Linked DNA regions of Homo sapiens: region 1 is linked to region 2. Evidence: promoter capture Hi-C in 16 types of primary human blood cells and fetal thymus (Javierre and others, 2016). All regions are on one chromosome and are shown on one strand. Each heading gives the region's core, a stretch centred on a gene start or on the middle of the fragment in contact. The rest is flanking DNA. Distances are from core to core; before and after follow the strand shown.

Evidence for each region. Contacts are between HindIII fragments. The CHiCAGO score rates a contact against its expected background, and 5 or more counts as called.
Region 1: the fragment with the promoter of TMCC1 here is called in contact with the fragment with the promoter of CHCHD6 in region 2 in 2 of 17 cell types (non-activated CD4 T cells and naive CD4 T cells); the score reaches 7.4 in non-activated CD4 T cells.

The regions. Positions count from the first base shown.
Region 1 is chr3:129,891,874-129,895,153 of GRCh38, reverse strand. TMCC1 (transmembrane and coiled-coil domain family 1) reads left to right here and starts at 1,443. Exons shown (of 7, transcript NM_001017395.5): 1 at 1,443-1,660. It overlaps TMCC1-DT (TMCC1 divergent transcript), which reads right to left and starts at 1,283. Exons shown (of 3, transcript NR_037893.1): 1 at 1,227-1,283. RefSeq lists a silencer at 1,186-1,915 and enhancers at 1,277-2,068, 2,069-2,861. The HindIII fragment of the contact is 6,422 bases long and covers 1-3,280 here.
Region 2 is chr3:126,702,448-126,705,641 of GRCh38, reverse strand. It overlaps CHCHD6 (coiled-coil-helix-coiled-coil-helix domain containing 6), which reads right to left and starts at 1,402. Exons shown (of 8, transcript NM_032343.3): 1 at 1,243-1,402. The coding sequence starts at 1,329. RefSeq lists enhancers at 151-702, 1,763-1,822 and a silencer at 1,013-1,212. The HindIII fragment of the contact is 1,689 bases long and covers 335-2,023 here.

The sequences.
Region 1 (3,280 bases), core at 194-2,693, 3.2 Mb before region 2:
CCGTTTCTACTAAAAATACTAAAAAAATTAGCTGGGTGCAGTGGCGTGCACCTGTAGTCCCAGGTACTAGGGAGGCTGAGGCAGGAAAATCACTTGAACCCGGGAGGCAGAGATTGCAGGGAGCCGAGATCGCGCCACTGCACTCCAGTCTGCCTCTCAAAAACAAAAAACAGACATAATGATCAAGTTATTTCCCCTGCAACCCTGCTGAAAAAAACCTGAATAGCTTCTACCAAGCACTCAGATTAAAGTCCCAAATCCGGCCGGGTGTGGTGGCTCATGCCTGCAATCCCAGCACTTTGGGAGGCCGAGGCGGGCAGATCACAAGGTCAGGAGTTCCAGACCAGCCTGGCCAAGATGGCGAAACCCCATCTCTACTAAAAATACAAAAATTAGCCAGGTGCGCTGGCGTGCGCTGGTAGTCCAGCTACTCCGGAGGCTGAGACAGGAGAATCGCTTGAACCCAGGAGGCGGAGGTTGCAGTGAGCTGAGATCGAGCCATTGCACTCCAGCCTGGGTGACCTGGGTGACAGAGTGAGACTCTGTCTCAATAAATAAATAAATAAATAGGTCCCCAATCCTCACCTGTTCTCGCCTACCTCTTCCCACACTCGCAGTCTACTCCACATTCAATATTCTTTAGCGCTCCCCATTCTGGCCATGCCAAGACCTCACCCCTTGGAGCAACTAACTCCTCCCAACTCAATTCCTCAGATTCTACCCTCTTCATCCTCAACTAAATCAATTCCCCCATAAAGATTCTCTTAGTACCATATACCTCTCAGAAGATTTTTACTAATTGAAAACTTAATTTTGTCTGATTCTCCCATGAATGTTTTCCTTCTCCACCAGATCTCAAACTTCATGAGACCAGGGACTCCGTTGACCCCATATGGTACTCCCAGCTCCTTGAACACGGAAGAAGCCTCATTACATAAGTAATAAAAATAAAATAAATTAGGAAAATGGGAATTATAAAGGGATGGGCTGGTGGCTGCTTACAATCCCTTCAGTGGTAATACCTGGTGCAAAGTAATGAGTCTCTGCCCTTTTCCAAGCAGCCTGCTAGGTGGAATGAAGGAAGGCCTTGCGACTCAAATAGGGAGAACAAACGTGTGATCCAGAGCGGCGGGCAGAAATCCGACGAAACCCCATATTACTCAGGGGCGTTGCTCCTAGGGCGAGGGTGGCTCGGTTCCTAGAGCTTTTTGAGAGGAGGAGCTTACCTGGAGCAACTCAGCACTACCTGCAGCGGCGCAGCTCAACCAGCCCAGAGACCGCGTGGGAAGGCGGGCTAGGGGAGGGGCCACGCCTTCCAGGGCCCATCCCCGCCCCTGCGGCGTGCGCGCGCCCGTCCGCCCGCTCCCTTGCGCGTGCGCCGCCGGCCGGGGGCGGAGGTTGTGGGCGGTGGCGGCTGTGGCGGGGGCGCGCGCGCGCTCGCTCTCTCGCGCCGGTTCGCCCTCCCGCGCCGGGGCTGAGGCGGCGGCGGCGGTGGCGGTGACTGAGGCGGCGGCGGCTGAGGCGGCGCGGGGGGAGGGTCGGGAGGGGGGGGTGGTTGTGGGGGATGGACCGGGTGCGGCGGCCGCAGTGGAAGGAGCAGGCGCTTGAGCTCGAGCGACGGCGCTGGCGGAGACGCCGGCTGCTCCTCCCCTCCCCGCCGGTGAGTGAGCGCCCCCGCCCCGGACGCTGGCGGCGGTCGCGGCCCCCTCACGGCCCTCCGCGGTGGGTGGGGACAGTCGTGAGGGAGCGTGGCCTGGCGGCGCAGCGGACGCGGGCCTGGCCTCCCGCTCGCGGCCTGTCGGGGCTGGGACCTGCCGTCGCCCCCGTTCGAGGTTGAAGCCCCGGGCCTAGGACTCGACCCCCAGCATCCCACGGGGCCTCTTTCCTTTCCCGGCTCATTCCGCTGTCATTTTGACCTGGGGTTCCCCTCCAGCCCCTCGCCTCGTTCCCTTCCCAGCATCCCAGGGCCGAGGTGAGGGAGGGGCGTGTGAGAAGTCGGGCCGAGGCCCGAGGGACTGTTTAGGAGCCGGTTCCCGTCGGAATCTGGGGTTTTAGGAGCCCTCGATCGCCATGGCGTCCCAGAAGTTAGCCACCAGGACTCAGCCATTTCCACCTGAAACCAGTTTTGCACCTATTGTTTTGATTTTGAACTGTCTTTCGAGGGGAGGAGGGAGCCCGGCGTACTGGGGAGAATATGTAGTGGGAGGTGGGATGTGAGGAGGAGCTGGCTGGGCTTGGTCTCGGCCTCAGGATGCCCCCTGTTAACCCCTGTAGGATAGGGGAAAGAGGTGCAGCGAGTTGCACCTTCCCTAAAGGGCCAGAGATTCGTTTATAGCTTGCGAATCTCTGCTTTTTCAGCCTCGGTAAAGGGGTATCATTTGTGGTTGGTTTGGTTCGTCCCTTAACAACATTCTTGGTGAGGAATCCCCAGGTGAATCTGCCACGGAGTGAAGCAGCCCACTTGAGCTGTTGGCTACCCCCGGCCCCCGCAACGCCCGTTGGCTTTTGTGACACGTTACACGTTAGTGTTGGTAGAGCCTAGCCGTCAGAGGTACCTGTACCATAAGCATCTCTACGAAAGGTGTGAATTCCTAAATTAGCTTATTCTGTTCTTAAAAAAAAAAAATCCAGGGCATAAATATCAGATAGCTGCTTTAAAATAAAACAAAACTTTGATTTGTTCCAGGAGGTAGATACATTTTTTTCTCTGTATATTAGGAGATTGAAACTCAAATTGTGAGTAGGTGGTAGTTTTACTAGTGTCATGTGACAAAACGATGCTTATAGATGGGATTTTAACTTAATAACCCTGTCCTCTACCAACAGAGTTGGCTTGTATTTTTTTGCAATCACCCACTCTCTGGCTAGTGTAGAAAGATTAAAAAGCTGCTTCTGGTCTGTGGGTGGTAACCTTTTAATTTCTGAAGAGTTTTGAGCTGCTTATAGATTGCTGATCAGCAGCATAGGAAAATTTTAGACGTTAAAAATTCATTAGCATGTGATGTAGAACTGTTATAATTATGAGCATTGATTAAGATTTGGTATGGTGTAGGTGCTGTGTACTGTGTATAAGAATGAGATTTCTCAGAGCATTTGCATCTTAAGATAAACAGAAGCACAGACCGCTGACAGTGTTGGGACACCTTGCAGAAGGACTCTTTTATGAGCACAAAAGACCTGTAGTCTACAATTTGATGAAGAACCCCAGTGCCCTAGACTAGTTGGTGACCAACCACCATTACTTTAAACTGGGCCTTCTTGATAGTAGAATATTTCCCCT
Region 2 (3,194 bases), core at 153-2,652:
ATCTCTCCACAGTTACTTACAAAGCACCTGCAGGTGTAGACACAGGTGGAGGAAGAGGCCGAGCACAGCAACATGCCCTGGAATTGGCTTGTTTCAATCCCAGCTCTCCCACTTACTATTTACATGATCTTGGATCAGTTCGTTCACCTCTCAGTGCCTCACTTCTCCTTAATCTACAATAATGGGCTAAATAGGGCTGTTGAAAATTAAATCAGTTAACTTATAAAGGGTTTAGTCCAACGCATGGCCCCTACACTGCAATAAGAGCTGCTTTTATTCTTCTGGGTTCTGGGGACAGTCTTCAATCAGACAGGAACCTTAGCCTCAAAAAGCTTACACTCTAGCAGTAAACGCAATAAACAAGTAAACAATTATCAACAGAAGCGATCACTGTGATGAGTGCTATGAAAATAATAAATGTTGGACGCGGGGTGGGAGGTTACTTCAGATTGGGTGGTCAGGGAAGGATTCTCTGGTGATATCTGAATTACAACAAGAATTACAAGAAACAGCGGGATTTAAGGAGAGCTGAAGGAGAGAGAACAGCCGGCGCACAGACCCTGAGCTGAGCCAGCGGCACCCTCCAGGAAAACACGGCGGTCCTGAGGCTGGGGACGAGGTGCGGGTGCCACGCGAGGGAAATGGCACGAGATGCAGTCCCAGAGGGATGCAGTCCCCAGAGGTCGACGGGCAGCGGCCAGCTTTGGAACCAGGGAAGGCATCATCCAAGCGCGCTAGGAACCCACTGGAGGGTTTCAGGCAAGGAAGGGGATCAGATCTGAGCTATGGTTCTTCCTGCGCCCCGCAGATGTGCTGTGGAGAACAGGCCGGCGGGGAAGAGCTGAGTCCCCAGGCAAAGCCCAGGTGGGAGACACCGCGTACCCAGAACGAGATGCGCGCACCTGAGGGGCCACGGGCTGGGAGGCCGGGCGCAAATTCAAGAAACGTAAAAACTAAGCCGACCGGAGCCAGGACGTGGCCAGGGCGTCCCTCGTGTCCCAGGGGCCTCGCACCTGTACAGTTCTTCACTCCTCCTTCCCTGAAGCCCATGTCGCGAAGCTCCAAGGCTGCCAGCCTCGGGCTCGCGTCTCGGCTCAGCCTCTTCCTGGCCTGAGCCCCCGGAGTCTCCCAAGCCCCACGCCCCTCACGCGTGGAAAGAGCCCCGGCCCTGCGCTCCGCCCCGCACCTCCCCCCCGCGCCCGCGGCCTCCACGCCCGCCCCGGCCCAGGCGGCGCCGCTCACCCGGACACCCTGCAGCACCCGGACCCGCTCCTCCTCGTCCACTCCGAAGGACACCCTGCGGCCCTCGCTGCTCTCCGTGCTCCCCATGGCGAGATGCCGCAGGGCCGGCAGCCACCAGACCCGAGACCCGGCTCCAGAGCAACCGGGCCAACAACGCTTTCCAGGACTCGCGCGGCCGCGGCACACGCCAACAAAGCCACGTCCTATTGGCCGACGCCAGAGGCTTCACCAATCGGGTGGCGCTGAGTCGCGGTGCCTTGTGGGGATTGCAGTCCTTCCGTCTGGAGGGGTGGGGGCGTGGCGGTCTGTGCCTGCTAGAGTGCGTTAGGCTGAGGCCGAAGATGTGTACCGGCGGAGGCCCTGGAGTGGAGGGCTGGGTGCAGGACAGGGTCACGTTCTCGCTTTGGGAGCTCCCCCTTGAGGGAGAGCCAAGGGTGATGTTCTGAGGCCAGGAGACGCCGAGACGGCCAAGGCGCTCATCTGGAGGCGAATTTCTGAGGGTTCACTGCTCCATTCATTCAGCAAACACGTGTAGAGCAGCACGGGCTGAGCGCCAGACGAGCAGGGACCTGGCCCTGGCATTACAGCGCCCCTCAAGACAGCGAGTGTCCTGCCCTTGAGAGGTTTACAGTGCAAGGGGAAAACAAGTGAAAAGCCAAACACGCACGCAAGGAAACTGACTGTAATACACGGAAAACTGCATGGCGATGCCACTAGTAAAATGAACAGAAGGAGGCCTCTTTTAATTTCAGTGGCCAGAGCAACCTCTGAGGAAGAAGCTTTGAACTGAGCCGGCGGGAGAGTAGGATTTATGTAGAAAAAGGTAGGGGAAGAGGTTTCCTGGGAGTCTCAGGCAGGAAAAGAGAAAGAGGGGTCATCCCATGGCTGGAAAGTGAGAAGAGGGCAGAGGAGTGGTGAGGACCCAAATCATGTCGGGTCTTGTGAGGCAGGGTCTGAGTGTGGGTTTTATTCTAAACGCCCCGGGAGGACAGGGAATGGTCCTAAGCCGTTAGGAGGCATTGCCCAAGGAGTGTACATACCATGTGTGGAGTGCAGTGTGCCAGGCATTGTGTGTAGGCTTCTTACACAGGACCCTATGTGTAAGGGAGCACACAGACGGTTGCCAGTCATAGACACTGCTACCTTCAAATAAGCCCCTTTTTGTTCCTCTGAGTTGCTGAATGGCTTTGATTTGCAAAAGTGCGCCTGAAGCCGAGCTGAGGAAAACTAGATGGCTACATGAAATAGCCAGAAAATATTTGGAGCTCCTATTGGCAACCTGGAAAGAAAGGGGTGAGGAGGAGAGAATGATTGAGAGAGAGCAGTAAGGCTCTGAGATTGAGAATAGCTCAGGGTGAAGAAGCTAGTAAACATCCCAGAGCTGGTGTGACGATGGAATCTTTAGGAACAAAGGTGTCTGCTAGTTTCATTCAAAATACTTCATTGGCGCACCCCACTCCATCACCTCTGTCGTCCATTTCTTCCCTATAAGCAGAGCCTGCGTAGGGGATTCTGGTGCAAGGAGTTTCCTGGGGGAGCACCTCAGGAGAAAGGAAGTTAGGGAGACAGGCTAAGAGGGGTGGGGACCGGGGGCCGCGGGGAAAACTGAGTAAAGATGTGGTCAGACCTGGTCCTGGGCTTTCCTTTGTCTCTTTTCCTTGGAGGTTTATGATTACTAATTCAATCTCCTTACTCGTTATTGGTCTGTTCAGATTTTCTGTTTCTTCAAGACTCAGTTTGGATAGATGGTATGTTTCTGGGAATTCGTCCATTTCTCCTAAATTATCCAGTTTCTTGGTGTATAATTGTTCATAGTAGTTGATTATGATCTTTTGTATTTCTGTGATATCAGTTGTAATGTCTCCTCTTTCATTTATACTTTTGTTTATGTGAATTACCTTTTTTCTTGGTTAGTCTAGCTAAGGTTTGTTAATTTTGTTGATCTTTACTGT